Linked DNA regions of Homo sapiens: all the other regions are linked to region 1. The links are contacts of gene promoters, found by promoter capture Hi-C in blood cells and fetal thymus (Javierre and others, 2016). All regions are on one chromosome and are shown on one strand. The core of a region is centred on a gene start or on the middle of the fragment in contact, and the rest is flanking DNA. Distances in the headings are between cores, read along the strand shown.

Region 1 (4,361 bases), core at 1,420-3,919:
AGCCTCTGAGCAGCTGGGATTACAGGCACCTGCTACCACCCCTGGCTAATTTTTGTATTTTTAGTAGAGACAGGGTTTCACCATATTAGCCAGGCTGGGAAATCCTGATCTCAAGTGATCCGCCTCGGTCTCCCAAAGTGCTGGGATTACAGGTGTGAGCCACCATGCCCAGCCCCCTTGGACAGTTTCTTTAACGAAAAGTGAAACAAAAACGTTCCTCCAGGTTCCTTGTAAACTCTGGATAATTCTGAGGTGAATGCAATAACCCAGTAAGAAACTTGTCCAGGATAATTATTTTAAGATCTTCTTTGATAAGTCTGGCTACAGAGTAAAGTTAACATTCTATTATGAAGCAAGGAATAAATCCATCCCTGTATCAATTAAAGGAAGAGAATATCAATGTGAAAGGGGGCATTAGAAACCACGCTTCAAAAGGATTCCCACAGTGACAGAACTTCTCAATGAAACACCACACCCCAAGTAACGGGGGCGGGGTGGTGCACCATAGAATCTGCCCCTAGGAGGCACAGCCACCTCCACACCGAGGGTTTCCAGTTTCCCATTCACATAAAAGAAACAAGTAAGAGATTCTGGGAGGCGCTGGGCTAGGAAGGCATCTACTCACTGTCTCCACCAACAATTCCCTCAGTAAAGCAGCCATTGCCCAATAATGCTTCTATTTATTTTACCCAGAAGCAGATCTATTAGCCAGACATTCTAAAAACACAAACGCTTCGTTGTGCTTGGAGTAACTCCAATATTGATGCCTTGCTGCAGAACGATGCTGCAGGAATATAAAGTGAGCCATGTGCTAGCTGTACCCACTTATGAAGCACACTGTCAGAAACTGTCACATCCTGGAGACCAACCCATCCGAAAGACTGAGAATAAACCCCCTACGAGAACACTGTGGAAGGAGGGAGAAAGCCAAAGATAGGATGAAGCAGGGCCCTCCTAAAGTCTCCGGAACAACGAAGCCAATTTTTAAGGCAACTCTCCCTAAAGCTTTCAGGACCAGAAAGATGTTTCTTTCTCCTCTCCTTGTTCAGACTGAATAAGAAAAGCAAGACAATGCTGGAGGATGTTCTGAAATGGGCTCCGCAAGTCACCACGTGCAAAGCACATTAAACAGAAGCCAGTGCTAGGCCAGGGTTTGGCTCTGAAGATGTTGCCTACTGGAAGGAGAGGGGCCCCCGGGGGTTTCCACGCAGAGACCAGGGCTGGGCGGTCAAACCTGGTAAACTGACAAGGAGAAGAGCCTTAACAACAATATAATGAAACGGCCAGAGGCCACCGGTACTCCCCAGGGCTGGGAGAGACAGGGAGGCCGAGGCTGCTAAACTGTTCCAGATGACAAGCAGGCTCTCCCACGTCTCCACGAACTGATCAGATACCAGGGCCTCGCTTCTTTGTGAGCCTCAGCTCCCTCCTTTCTGGGGAACCCTACTCGATCCCCAACAGCCGCTGGCCTCCAGCTGCCACAAACGAGATCCAGACTCATTACAGGGAATTCGTATTTCCCCCCCTCAAATAAAACACACACACACACACACACACACAGAGTCTCCGGGGTCCAGCCGGATCACACAGCTAAAGTTTCCGGAACTTGAATCGTAAAACCACAATCAGAAGTTGTTTGGAAATACTCGCCGCAAAGCAATCTGTCCTTTGCTTTAAAAAATAAAAAATAAAAAAAACTTTGCCCTGCATAAAGGCAGACAGTAAAGAGAGACACAAATCTAACTTGGGCAGAGGGTGTGTTCCTCTTTGTCACCCGCCGGGAACCCTCGCGCCGCGCGTGGGCGAGCGGCGGGCACCCGGCGGCATCCGCGCCAGCGGCCACCTCCCCGGCCCGCAACCGGCCTCAGGGGCCGAGATTGCGGCCCGAGGTCCGGAAGCGGCGTCCAGCGCTGTCAGCGGGCGGGTAGGACGGAAGGAAACGGGGGAAGGGCGCCGGGGTCGGGGGAGGCGAGCGGGGACCGGCGCGGAGCCCCGCAGCCCGACGTCGGCGGAGGTGAGGGGAGAGGGGCGCAGGGGGCAGCCCGGAGCCCCGAGGCCCCCGAGCTCCTGCGATGGTGGCCGGGGCTGCCCGGGCCCGACCCGCCGCCCGACTGCGCAGGGCAGGACCTCGGGGACCACGCGCCCACCTTCGCCCGCAGCCGCGGCCGTGCGCTGCGGGAGCCTGGACTCGCACAAGTTGCCGCCCGCGGCCCGGACCCCGCCGGCCCCCGCCCTCCCGCCGCGGTCATTGTTCACCGCGCGCCTCCTACCTCCACAGCGCCGGCGGCTGCGGCGGCTCCCTCTCCCGGCTCGGGCTCCGGGATCGGCGGCTCCCAAGCCCCCGGCGGCCGAGGGCGCGGCGGCGCCGGCTATTAATACCCGCGGGCGGCGGCGGCGCGGGCGCGCGAGCAGGGCTGGCGGTGGCCGGCTGAGGTCCGAGCCATCAAAGGTGGCGCGGGGCGGAGGGGAGGGCGGAGCAGGCGGGGTGGGTGGGGAGCGGGCTCCGGGTCGCCATGGCCGCCTCGACGCCGGGGCCAGCGCTACTCGCGCAGGGAGGAGCGGCGCAAAGCGGGCAGCGGCCGCGTCCCCGCCCCGCGCCCCAGCCGAGCGCCCGCACCGCTGCGCCCGCGCCGGACCCGCCGCCTCTGAGGCCGGCGAGCGGGAAGTGCAGTGGCCACCGCCCCTCCCCGGGTCTGGGCCGGCCCCTCGGCGGGGGGAGGCGGGCGCCGCGCAGCCCGAGCAGCGGGGACGCGGGAGAGCCACAGCCCCCTCCAGCGTCCGGGCCCGCGCCCTGCGCCCGCCCCGCCCCGCTCCGCTCCGCCCGGGCAGGTGCGCCCAGGGGCCTCCCGAGCCCAGCGCGCCGCCGGGGATCTGCGCCTCTCTTGGGCTTCCGGCCAGGGCCGGGCTCCGCGCGGCGCTACCTAATGCAGCGCGGGGAGCGCCACTGGCGAGACGCGAATCCAGCAGCTGTGGCGAAAAACGAACCGGGGAGAGCGGGAGACGTGTGCACGGCGAAGCCGGGAGCGGCAGGCGGGCGGTCAGGGGCTCGGACTCTGCAGGTCGCTTTTTGAGGTCCTGCCTGGGGCTGCTTCGCCTGCGACGTCGCGCGGGGAGGACAGTCTTCAGGGACCCACCGAGCCCTCCCCTCCCCCGGAGCCACAGGCACGGGCTTCCGGCACCACCCCGGGCTGCGCGGGACTTAAGCTTGGGGGAGCGGCGGCCACCCCGCGCCCGCCCACGTCCTGGCCCAGCGCCCTCCGCCCGAGCGAATCCCATGACAGTTCCCGCCCGCCCAGCCTCGGGGGACAGTGCCCTTGGGGAATGGCGTGGGGGAGGTTAGGAGTGGCTTGCGGTGCTTGAGAGCCTTCGGGGTTTCGGGAACTCTACGGAGCGGGGAGCAAGATTCAGGACCCAGGAGGCAGCGATCTAGGGGCACAGTCACCGTCCCCACCCAGCAGCTGCCGCGTTACCTTCTCTTCCCCCTTCTGAGCCTCCAGTCCCTCTCTCTAAGCGTGGCGGGAAGAGGCCTAGGGCGCAGCAAGTGACGTTCTGCCAGACCCGGGGCTAGCGGATTCCGGCCTTCGGAGGCCACTGGCTCAGAACCGTGGGCCTTTTGCGTCTTACAGGAGTTCCCTGACCTCAGACCGAGAGGGCAGATTTCACGGGAGAGGCCTCAAGTGAACTCACAGCTGGACAGGAGCTGGGCAGAAGTGGAGTGTAGGGACCCTGATAGAAGGGCGGGTTGAGACAAGAACAGGGGTCTTGGAAGTAGGGGGTGCTTGTGGGCAGCTCCTGGGGAGGAGCAGAGATGTAATACTTGCAGATTTGGTGGTCTGTGGTTGAAGAGAAGAAATGGTGGGTTTGAGGCTTTGCTCTGTCAGCCCAACCAGCTGTGTGTCACAGATCAGATTTTTTTCTGCTCGTGATTCTCTAAGTGTGGTTCTCAGACCACGACCACCACCAGCAGCCCCTGGAAACGTCAAGAAATGAACATTCTTGGGCCGCATCCCCGACCTACCTAATGAAACCTTAGCAAGCATCTGAATCGCCTGCAGGGATAAAGGACTGTCAGGCTCCATCCCCAGAGCTGCCGATTCAGTAGGTTTGGGGTGGGGCCTGAGAGTTTGCATTTCTAACAAATTCCCAGATAGTGATGTTGCTCTGGTCCTGGGATCACACTTGGAGGATCACAGTGTTAGGACAGTGGGTCTCAAACTCATGGAATCATCTGCGATTAAAAAACAACACCCTGGTTGCACCCCAGCCAAATATATAAAGATTCTAACCCAGGCATCAGTAAAGTTCCGCAGGTGATTCCAGTGTGTAGCCAGGTTTGAGAACAGTTGCTGTAGGCGGCTTTT
Region 2 (4,405 bases), core at 87-2,586, 260 kb before region 1:
CCAAGATATGCTTATTGAATAGCTAATATCTGACAGAATACTGACAAAAATGAGACTACTGATTGCATTCTCAATTTTTCTTTTCCAAAATTTTAAAGTGCAATTATAAAAAAGTTTCTATGCTTTTTCTTCAATATTCCCCCACATAAAATTATTTATTTTGCAATCTTCTGGGTGCCACTTATCTACCATAATTTGTCTTCTTTTATTCTGTTCTAAAACATAGGAGATTTTCTCTCTATGTGCCCAGAATATGCTCAAAAGGCCCAAGTAGGAAATATATTAGAGATGTAGGTTTTCATCTATTTTTTTGAAAGGCTCTATTTAAATCCATACGCTCTAAGAGGATACAATGAAACCTCTCTTGAGATTATCCCATTTGAAAGCCAGTTATCAAAAAAAAGGGCAGTATTATGCTGAATAATACGTAGCTTCCTGAATAGGCAGGACTCACTAGCGTCTGATATCTAAGTTGGGGCTCAGTGGAATACGCAAAGCTGGCGGTATTTTATAGAAATTACAAAGTTCCACAAGAAAAGCCAGGTTATAGGATTACCCATGTTAGCAGTGTGGTCCTCTTCTTGATACCTGAGGTTGTTGAGGGTAATGTATGTGTGCTTCTTAGACCCAGTTCCTTTAAGAAAAGTTTCACAAGCAGCTAAGCATCAGCTTCACAGTTCATCATCAAGCAATTCAGAAAAGCAATAGCAATGCAACTTGCAGGAAAAGAATTGAAATGCACTAATGGAAAAATGAATGTGCTACCTTGTTCTTACTTATGAGGAAAAGACACAGGAGAATGCTGCTTTGTTTGAACACGGTGGTGGTGATGGTGGTGGTGATGTTGGTAGTAGCAGTGGTGGTGGTGATGGTGGTGGTGGTGGTGGTGGAGGCAGTGTTTGGGTTGGGAACATGGTGCTTCGTACCAATGAAAAATACCATCTTGTACTCAGGACAAAGCTTCAGCCATCAGTGGGAAAGAACAGTTACAATGGACAGTTTTTACAGCATGATACCTGTTAGGACAAGTAAAAGCCCCTTCAGTTTAGATCAACAAGAGATATATTAATACCGTGCATACACTGTGACATGAGCTTGGCCTTCCATGCTCAAAGAACCACCAAGCTCATTGTTACTGGAGAAGCCAGCATTCTTCCCAGTGGTATGAGTCCATGCTTTATTGACGTACTTCATTGTTCCGCCATGGAGAGAAGAAGAAACCAGACAGCATCTGTGAGAACCTACATGTTGGGTGCCCACCAAAATGAAAAACAGCTCCTTGGCCATCAGAAGCCAACTGGGACCAAGTCAGGTGAGGCCTTTTCTACATTCCCACCCACTTCCCCACCCAGCAACACACACACGTATCTACATATCTATAAGCTAAATTCTCTTACAGATATGACATAGGTAAAGGTTTCTATCCCAATTGAAATAGATGTTTCCATTCAAAACATAAAGGCAAATCCATGGTTGGCTGTCTAGGCTCTCCATGCAAGCTACAGTCACAGATGCGTTCTGTTTCAGTGAGACCTCTCCTCTAGCTACAGTGATCCTGCTCACCTCTAAGGGCCCCCCTTCTCCCATGCACTGCCCAAAGTATAAAGTGCAAGCCTTGTTGGAAGAGCAAAGTTCACCTCTTCTTTTCCCACTTTAGTGAAATATGGCATCACCCAGGACGATCACTTAGGATGCTTCCACATGAAAGCTTGCACTTTGGGGAATAGGATCACTGTATTCTAGAGGAAAGAGGTATTCCAAGTACAAATTGGTATTCAGCAGTGTTAAAAAAAAAAAAAAAGACATCAGACAGTGCTCCAACAGTGTAAGAACAGAAGCTACACCATGCTTTGAGGGTAAAGACAGAACGCTGAAAACAAAGCGTTTTCTCCTAGATAGGTACATGCTGACAAGACACTGCATACAATGGAACAACGGAAAATGTTTTCCCAAACTGATTAAACAAATGACAAAAATGAGAATGAAGTCCCCAGCCTTTTCTATTTCAAATTAATTTGGTGTATTAGAAATTTTAAATAAAACATATTATCTACAGTATTAAATATACACACAGAGAGAACAGAAGGGAATTTGATTAATAATATAGGCCAAGCTGGTGAGGTTTGGTTAGTTAGGTTTTCACAGCAACCTTAGGAGGCAGAAACAGGAGTATGGGTAAGGGATTTATCCATCAGCCATTCTTGGTGCTTCTGGAGCGAGCAGCCAGTGTGCGTCCTTAACTAAGGAAGACCTATCTTCAGTCTTTCAATAAATCACTGCAGGGAAAGTGACAAATGCTTTACTTCCTACAAAGAAACTTTGAGGCCCAGAAGAAAAAGGAGTCGTTAGCTTGGTTTCAAGAGCCAGAAAAGGTCATCTATGAGTAATAACAGACTGGTCACCATGCCACTGCAGGCTCCTAAGTGACCCTTCTATCATTTCCCACTTTAAGGCCAGCTATCAATCCTGATTCATAATAAAGCAGACTCACTCCCTCACAACCCCCACACCACTACCGCCTCCACATCTCACTCAAAAGTGGAGTCAATCACTGTCCGATGCATTTTACTCCACACACGCACACCTGCCCGGTAGTCCTCGCTCCCTCCTTAGCGTCCTTGGTCTGTGTGCTTTTCCATGTTGCAGTGATTTCTAACTACTCCTCACTCCTCAACATTCTGCAATTGCTGCACCTGGCCCCAGCAGCACACTCCAGTATCTCACAGCACGATTTTCCATGACCGCACTGGCGGCGCCGGCCCTGTAGAGTTAACCTTTTAGACTGGCTTTCAACTACTCATGGAGATCAGATATCCCGTGGCAAGTTGATTTTTAATCTTCCCTACTTTCAAACAGAAAGCCACTCCAAGACAAATCAGAGTAACCTGATCTGGAGACTACATGAAGATGCAAATGCACTGCCTCCACTCCAAGTAACACTCCAACACCGGGCGCCGAGAAGATGCTGAAGGCTTGGTTTCGAGGCTACCATGCTGTGATGTCTGTGTCGAGTGGCCAATCTACACCGAAATGATCCTGAATAAATCAGAGTCTATTCAATGTTTAAAGCTTTCAGGAAAAGAAGATTTTCTAATTCTTCCCTAGCATCTACCAAGACGTTTAATTGCTTTCACTAGGGGTTAAATAAAAAAGTTCCTCCTGCTTGAGGTTTCATCTTTTTTTTTTTTTTTGGAGTGGTGTGCAGTTTATTTTATGAAGTGAGAACTTTTTTCAAAACAAGACGCTATCTCCCCTCCTCCCAAACACACATATGGCACAATAAATCAGCATTTACCACTTCTGTTCATGGGGAAATGCTTGGAAATCTCTCTCTAGGTTACTCTAGGAAATGACAAAGTTGCCCTTTTCAAGGATATACCCAAACAGCTAGCACCAGGCCACTTTTGATCTGTGATGTCTACAACTCCAGGCCAAATCATCATACAGATTGTGTGTGTGTGTGTGTGTGTGTTTTGTCATTATTTTTTAATAGAAAGAAAACTGTTATATTAAGTGTCACGCTAATTTTGGCCTAAAAGTCACAGCTTCATTTTAAATCCCAACAACTGGGAGAGGTGTGTACATGTGCTCACTAGAGACACCATTTTTATTAAGTTTCACTCAATTAAACAGAAACAGATGGAATTAAACTAACAAGGAAAAAAAACAGTACCAGTAAATTCTTTAATGTTGTCAGAGTAAATGTCTTTATGCCGCTCACAGAAGTTCATTCAATCGTACCTTTCTCTCCATATGCTCTTACGGGCTTGGCTAACAGAGAGCCAATATAAAACTCATCAGAGAGCTACCATTTTAAGTGGAAATGGTAGCAACGGATTATTTTTAAATGGCCACCTCTTTAAATTTATGCCTGAGGTTGTAATTTTTTGAATTTTTGTAATCAGACCTTGATGATGACCGTGAGCAGTAAGATATAAATAACTCCCACATGCTTAGCGTTCCAATAATGGAACACTACACATACATGGCTAGGGTTCAAAGAAACTTGCTCTGTTACAGGGATTACCTAGAAAGACTCTTCTGCAGTTCAATTTGTAAAATTTAGCAGCAATAGAATAGACTCATACCATCACACTAGAGGAAGGCCAGTCTTAGAACTAAGTCCATGACCATCAGAGGAGAAATGTTTACAGACCATAAAAGAGAAAGTCCAGAGAAAAAAAGTCTTTCTGGGGAATGTAACTTTAAAAGCTCTTAAAAATCTAGCTAATCAGAATAAGGTCCCAGGCAAAGAGAAGGGATCCAGATAGAAGCAAATAAAACCAACATAAACCTGATAGTTAAGGGAACCCAGATTTGTTAATTTAAGACTGGGTCTGCCTGTAACGCAATTACTCACTAACAGCTACAGTTTCACCAAAGTCATTCTGTGCTGAAATACGGA
Region 3 (4,039 bases), core at 1,540-4,039, 300 kb before region 1:
CGAACGTGTACTCGCTTTCCGCCCTGAAGTAGTAGACGTGGGACTTGAAGTGCAGCTTGAACACGTAGTCTTTCTGGATGTTCTCGGACTCAGAGGGGATGGTGAGCGAGTAGCCGAGCAGAGGCAGGCTGGCAAGGGGATGATTGTCCTGGAAAGGGGAAACAAAGCAAAGTGGCTTTTCGGGGTCAGCTTCTGCTGCTGGGCCTGGCTGCTGCCCCGCATCAGACAGGGACTTGGGAGCCCAGGCAGCTCCCTCCTCGGGCGTGGGCCTGGAAGGGACCATGGCAGCCAGTGTTTGCCTGTACGTGATGGCCCGGGTGGCAAGTCCCGCCAGGACTGAGCTGTAGATAAAGCCAACCCCCGTCCCTTGTCCAGGCAGAAGACAGGTGGCCCTTCCTAGGGCAGAAGTTGTCCTTCAGTGGATGATAATGTCAGTCTTCCCTAGAGTTGAGGGCCTCGGGTGGACAGGGCCCCCCGCCAGCATCCCTGTCATCCCCGTGACACCTGGAGCCCAAGAGGCCTGAGTCATTCCAGAGGAGGGCGGCCCCCTCACCTCATGCTGCCACCCCCAAGGTCCCAGGGCCACCTGCCCTGTGCGAGACACTTACCTGGTGTGATTTGTAGAAGAACAGGCAGAAGTTTGTGAACACCACCCACAGCTTCTGCCACCCGTTGCTGTTTTTGAATTTCCTCAGCAGGTTTCCAGACAACTGATTCTGAAAGGCAAGGAGGCCTGTGAGAAGCACAGCGGGCACCTGCCCCAGGAGGGCACAGAGAGCAGCTCTCCCTGCACCAGGGCCCTGGGCTGGGGCATGTCCGTGACTGAAGGATGTGGGCCCCACCCCCGCTCCCCCGTGTGTGGGGAGACTTGGCAGGTCCTGGGACCCTGATCTCATCACTTCCCCTTGTCACTTGCTGTGGGGCATCTTGGGGTCCCTGTGTCCCCCCAAAAGACACGTTGAGGTCCTGACTACCAGTACCTTAGAACACAGGCTTATTTGGAAATAGGCTCGTTGCAGGGTAACTAGTGAAGACGAGATCACACTGGGGTAGGGTGGGCCCTAAATCCAACGGGAGTGGTGTCCTGAGGAGAAGAGCCACCTTGAGGGGAGAGGGGTGTGCCCTGTGACACCGAGGCAGAAATGGGGGCGCAGGACCCCATGCATTGCCAGCAGGCGGAAGCTGAAGGAGGGAAAGATCCATCCCAACAAGCTCAGAGCAGCACTCGTTTTGAGGGGCCAGGCACCCTACCCAGGAAGTGGGGCCTGGGGTGCATGTGAGTGGCTCCCACATGCCCTCTAGTGGCCCAGGAGGCAGTTGCAGCCCTGCCCACCTCCAGGCTCAGGGCCGGCCCAGCCCCTGGAGCATTGTTAGGATGCGCTGCAGCCCAGCTAGGGGGCAGGGACAGGCACCTGTGTCCATGCTACCTCCAAACAACTCTGAGCAGGCCTGACGCACTGGTGGCTCATTTCGTCCCTTTGCCAAAGTGACATCACCAGCAGAGACTCAAAGCAGTTGCACCACCTTGTAAAGGCACTTAATGCCACTGAATTGTTCCCGTAAAAATCGTTAAGTTGGCCAATATTGTGGTATAGCTATTTTACCACAATAAAAAATACAGACCTCCGAGTCTGCCTCATTCCATCTCTCTGGGTGCCCCTGGCACTAAGCTTCTGTGCTGGGAGCTGGGATCAAATGGTCTGATGTCCCTGCCCTCCAGTTGCTCAGGGAGGGTCCAGTGGGAGACATGGACACTGACAGTAGGTCCGTGAGGGGCTGCAGGATGTGGGGGACCCCGCAGACGGGGAGAAAGGGCATTCCAGGCCAGGCAGGCAGCTCCAGCCATCCATCCTCCTCCCCCAGTGGCAGAAAGGAACAAGAAAATGCAAGGCTCCAGGTTCCCAGAAGGTCCTGGTGGTGGCCAGGGCTGGGCTGATGCCCATGCGGCATCTTGGGTCACGCAACATGGAGCAAGGAGGGTGGCACACTCCCCTTTCCTAGGTATTTTCATACTGACTCACATAATTTTCACACAGCAGCCAGCCCACAGTGGGGTTCATACATGTCACCCATCACAGTCTGGGCCCATTTGTTTCCAAAGCAGCTTCCTTAGCGCTCTCTAGCTTCTGCCTGGCCATTCCAATAGCCTCTGGAAACCTCTTTATCAATAGGCACATCCAGCGGCCCTTCCTCGCTCCCCACGGCCGGGCCGAGCCTCCCGCTCCCCTGTGTCGGGTCCATCCTGGCCTCCAGCGTGTTACGGGCCCTGCGCGCCATGAGTCTCCTGCCCTGCACTCAGGAGGCCGAGGCCATGCTGGTGGCTCCCAGACCTGTCTCCATTCACTGCCTTCACGAGAGGGTCAACATCCTTGTTCAGAACCAGACCAGCCTGCCCTGTCTCCTCGTGGCCCTTCATTGGGGCCACCGCTCCTCTCCCTTCTTGGATCCCATTCCCTCAGACCCTGCTGTGGGTTGAATTGCACCCCCAACAAGTCCAAACCCTCCGTGCCTACAATGGTGACCTCACATGGACACAGGGTCTCTGCAGATGCGATCGAGTCAAGGTAAGGTCACTAGGACGAGCCCTAAGCCCAGCACGAGCCGTGTCCTTAGAAGAGGATATTAGAGTGCAGATACAGGGAGGACAGCTGGTGACACGGCAGACCGGAGCCCTGCAACATGGGTGGAGTCGGGGACCCCCCGAGAAGAAGACTGCCGCAGCCACCAGATGCTGTCAGGTGGGGACATTTTCCCTCAAGGCCTCCCAAAGGAACCCACCTGCCAGCAGCTTGATTTTGGACTTCCGGCTTCCCGCACTGTGGGAGATGTTTCTGTGGCCTCACCCAGTCTGAGGTTGGTGCCGAGTGACGCCACGGGGAACAAATATAACCCCCGTGCCCGCCACTCCCTGGCCTCACTGTCCCTTCCCTCCTTCCGGTCCTGTCTGCACCCCGTCCCTTCCCTCCTCCCAGTCCTGTCTGCGCTCTGTCTGCTGAACAACTTCCCTGCTGTCCCGTCTCGCCACTCCAGCCTTAAAAGACAACTTGCATTGCTTTGCCTCTGGCCCTTCACTGGCTCTAGTGCCCACAGGCTGGGCAGCCCTCTGGCCATCCCAACATCTGACCCCACCTCTAGTGGGAGCCCCCAGGCCTGCCGGCTTGCCCACAACTTTTAGCAGAGGCCAGTGAGGCCACACGGTCCCCAGATACGCCCCTTCCTCAAGTGTGCCTACACGAGTCAGACGGGAGTGGGAACTGGGAGAGGCTGGGCACGGGACTGGGGAGAGGAGGCTGTTGAGTCAGGAGGAGATGGAGCTGCTTTGTCCTGTCATGCAGGGAGGAGGCCCTGGGGATGGCTCATCTGCGAGTCAGCGAGCATTTGGCGTCTGGCACATGAGGGCTGCCTGCCACCGACACAAGATTGATGCCACGTGCCTTGGGAGGGGGCTTTCTGGCAAGGAGGGACATCTGCAAAGTGATAGAGCAGCCCAGGTCCCTGACTGTACTAGGTGGTCACTGCCACCTTCAAACCCCACTGGCCAGTGGCTCACTCTCCTGCTCTCTACTAGGGTCAGCAAACTTTTCCTCAAAAGGCAGACGGCAGATATTTCAGGCTTTGCAGGCCAAGGGGCAAAACTGAAGACATTATGTAGCAGCCATTAAAAAAAAGTGAAACCCATTCTTGGTTCGCAGGCTGTAAGCCACCAGGCCGGGGCTAGATCTGGCTGGGGGCCAGCGTGCCCCTGACTCAGTGCCTTGACCTGATCATGCACACGGAAGGCTGCGACCGTGTAGATTTGTTATCCAAAAAAGCTGGGCTGCAGGTGGCTCTGGGCCACCTGGACCCCACTTGGGTATTTGCTGCCTCGTTGAATGGCCTGGGTGCCTCCAGGTATGTAAAAAGCTTTGAGGCCTATGACAAACCCCAGCCTTGAGAGTCGTAATTCACACATTGCTGAGGTCAGGACGAAGCAAGGCCAAGACGGTTCCTCCCCAGTGGCGGCGCCACACATCGACTGGCTTCGTTTCAGACACACGCC

The links. Contacts are between HindIII fragments. The CHiCAGO score rates a contact against its expected background, and 5 or more counts as called.
Region 2: a fragment that was not itself captured here is called in contact with the fragment with the promoter of FARP1 in region 1 in 1 of 17 cell types (endothelial precursors); the score reaches 6.5 in endothelial precursors.
Region 3: a contact is called between a fragment that was not itself captured here and the fragment with the promoter of FARP1 in region 1, in 1 of 17 cell types (endothelial precursors). The highest score is 7.1, in endothelial precursors.

The regions. Positions count from the first base shown.
Region 1 is chr13:98,141,402-98,145,762 of GRCh38, reverse strand. FARP1 (FERM, ARH/RhoGEF and pleckstrin domain protein 1) reads right to left here and starts at 2,669. Exons shown (of 27, transcript NM_005766.4): 1 at 2,271-2,669. It overlaps LOC105370328 (a long non-coding RNA gene), which reads left to right and starts at 1,853. Exons shown (of 3, transcript XR_931670.4): 1 at 1,853-1,924. RefSeq lists silencers at 2,619-2,928, 3,169-3,218. The HindIII fragment of the contact is 2,199 bases long and covers 1,008-3,206 here.
Region 2 is chr13:98,400,483-98,404,887 of GRCh38, reverse strand. The region is part of intron 13 of FARP1 (FERM, ARH/RhoGEF and pleckstrin domain protein 1); the gene reads right to left. Among named protein-coding and RNA genes, the nearest start is that of FARP1-AS1, 33 kb to the left of the region's middle. The HindIII fragment of the contact is 748 bases long and covers 963-1,710 here.
Region 3 is chr13:98,442,775-98,446,813 of GRCh38, reverse strand. FARP1 (FERM, ARH/RhoGEF and pleckstrin domain protein 1) reads right to left here. Exons shown (of 27, transcript NM_005766.4): 25 at 609-716; 26 at 1-148. It overlaps STK24 (serine/threonine kinase 24), which reads left to right. Exons shown (of 11, transcript NM_001032296.4): 11 at 1-1,629. Among named protein-coding and RNA genes, the nearest start is that of FARP1-AS1, 9.0 kb to the right of the region's middle. RefSeq lists enhancers at 705-754, 1,525-1,574 and a silencer at 685-979. The HindIII fragment of the contact is 2,233 bases long and covers 1,673-3,905 here.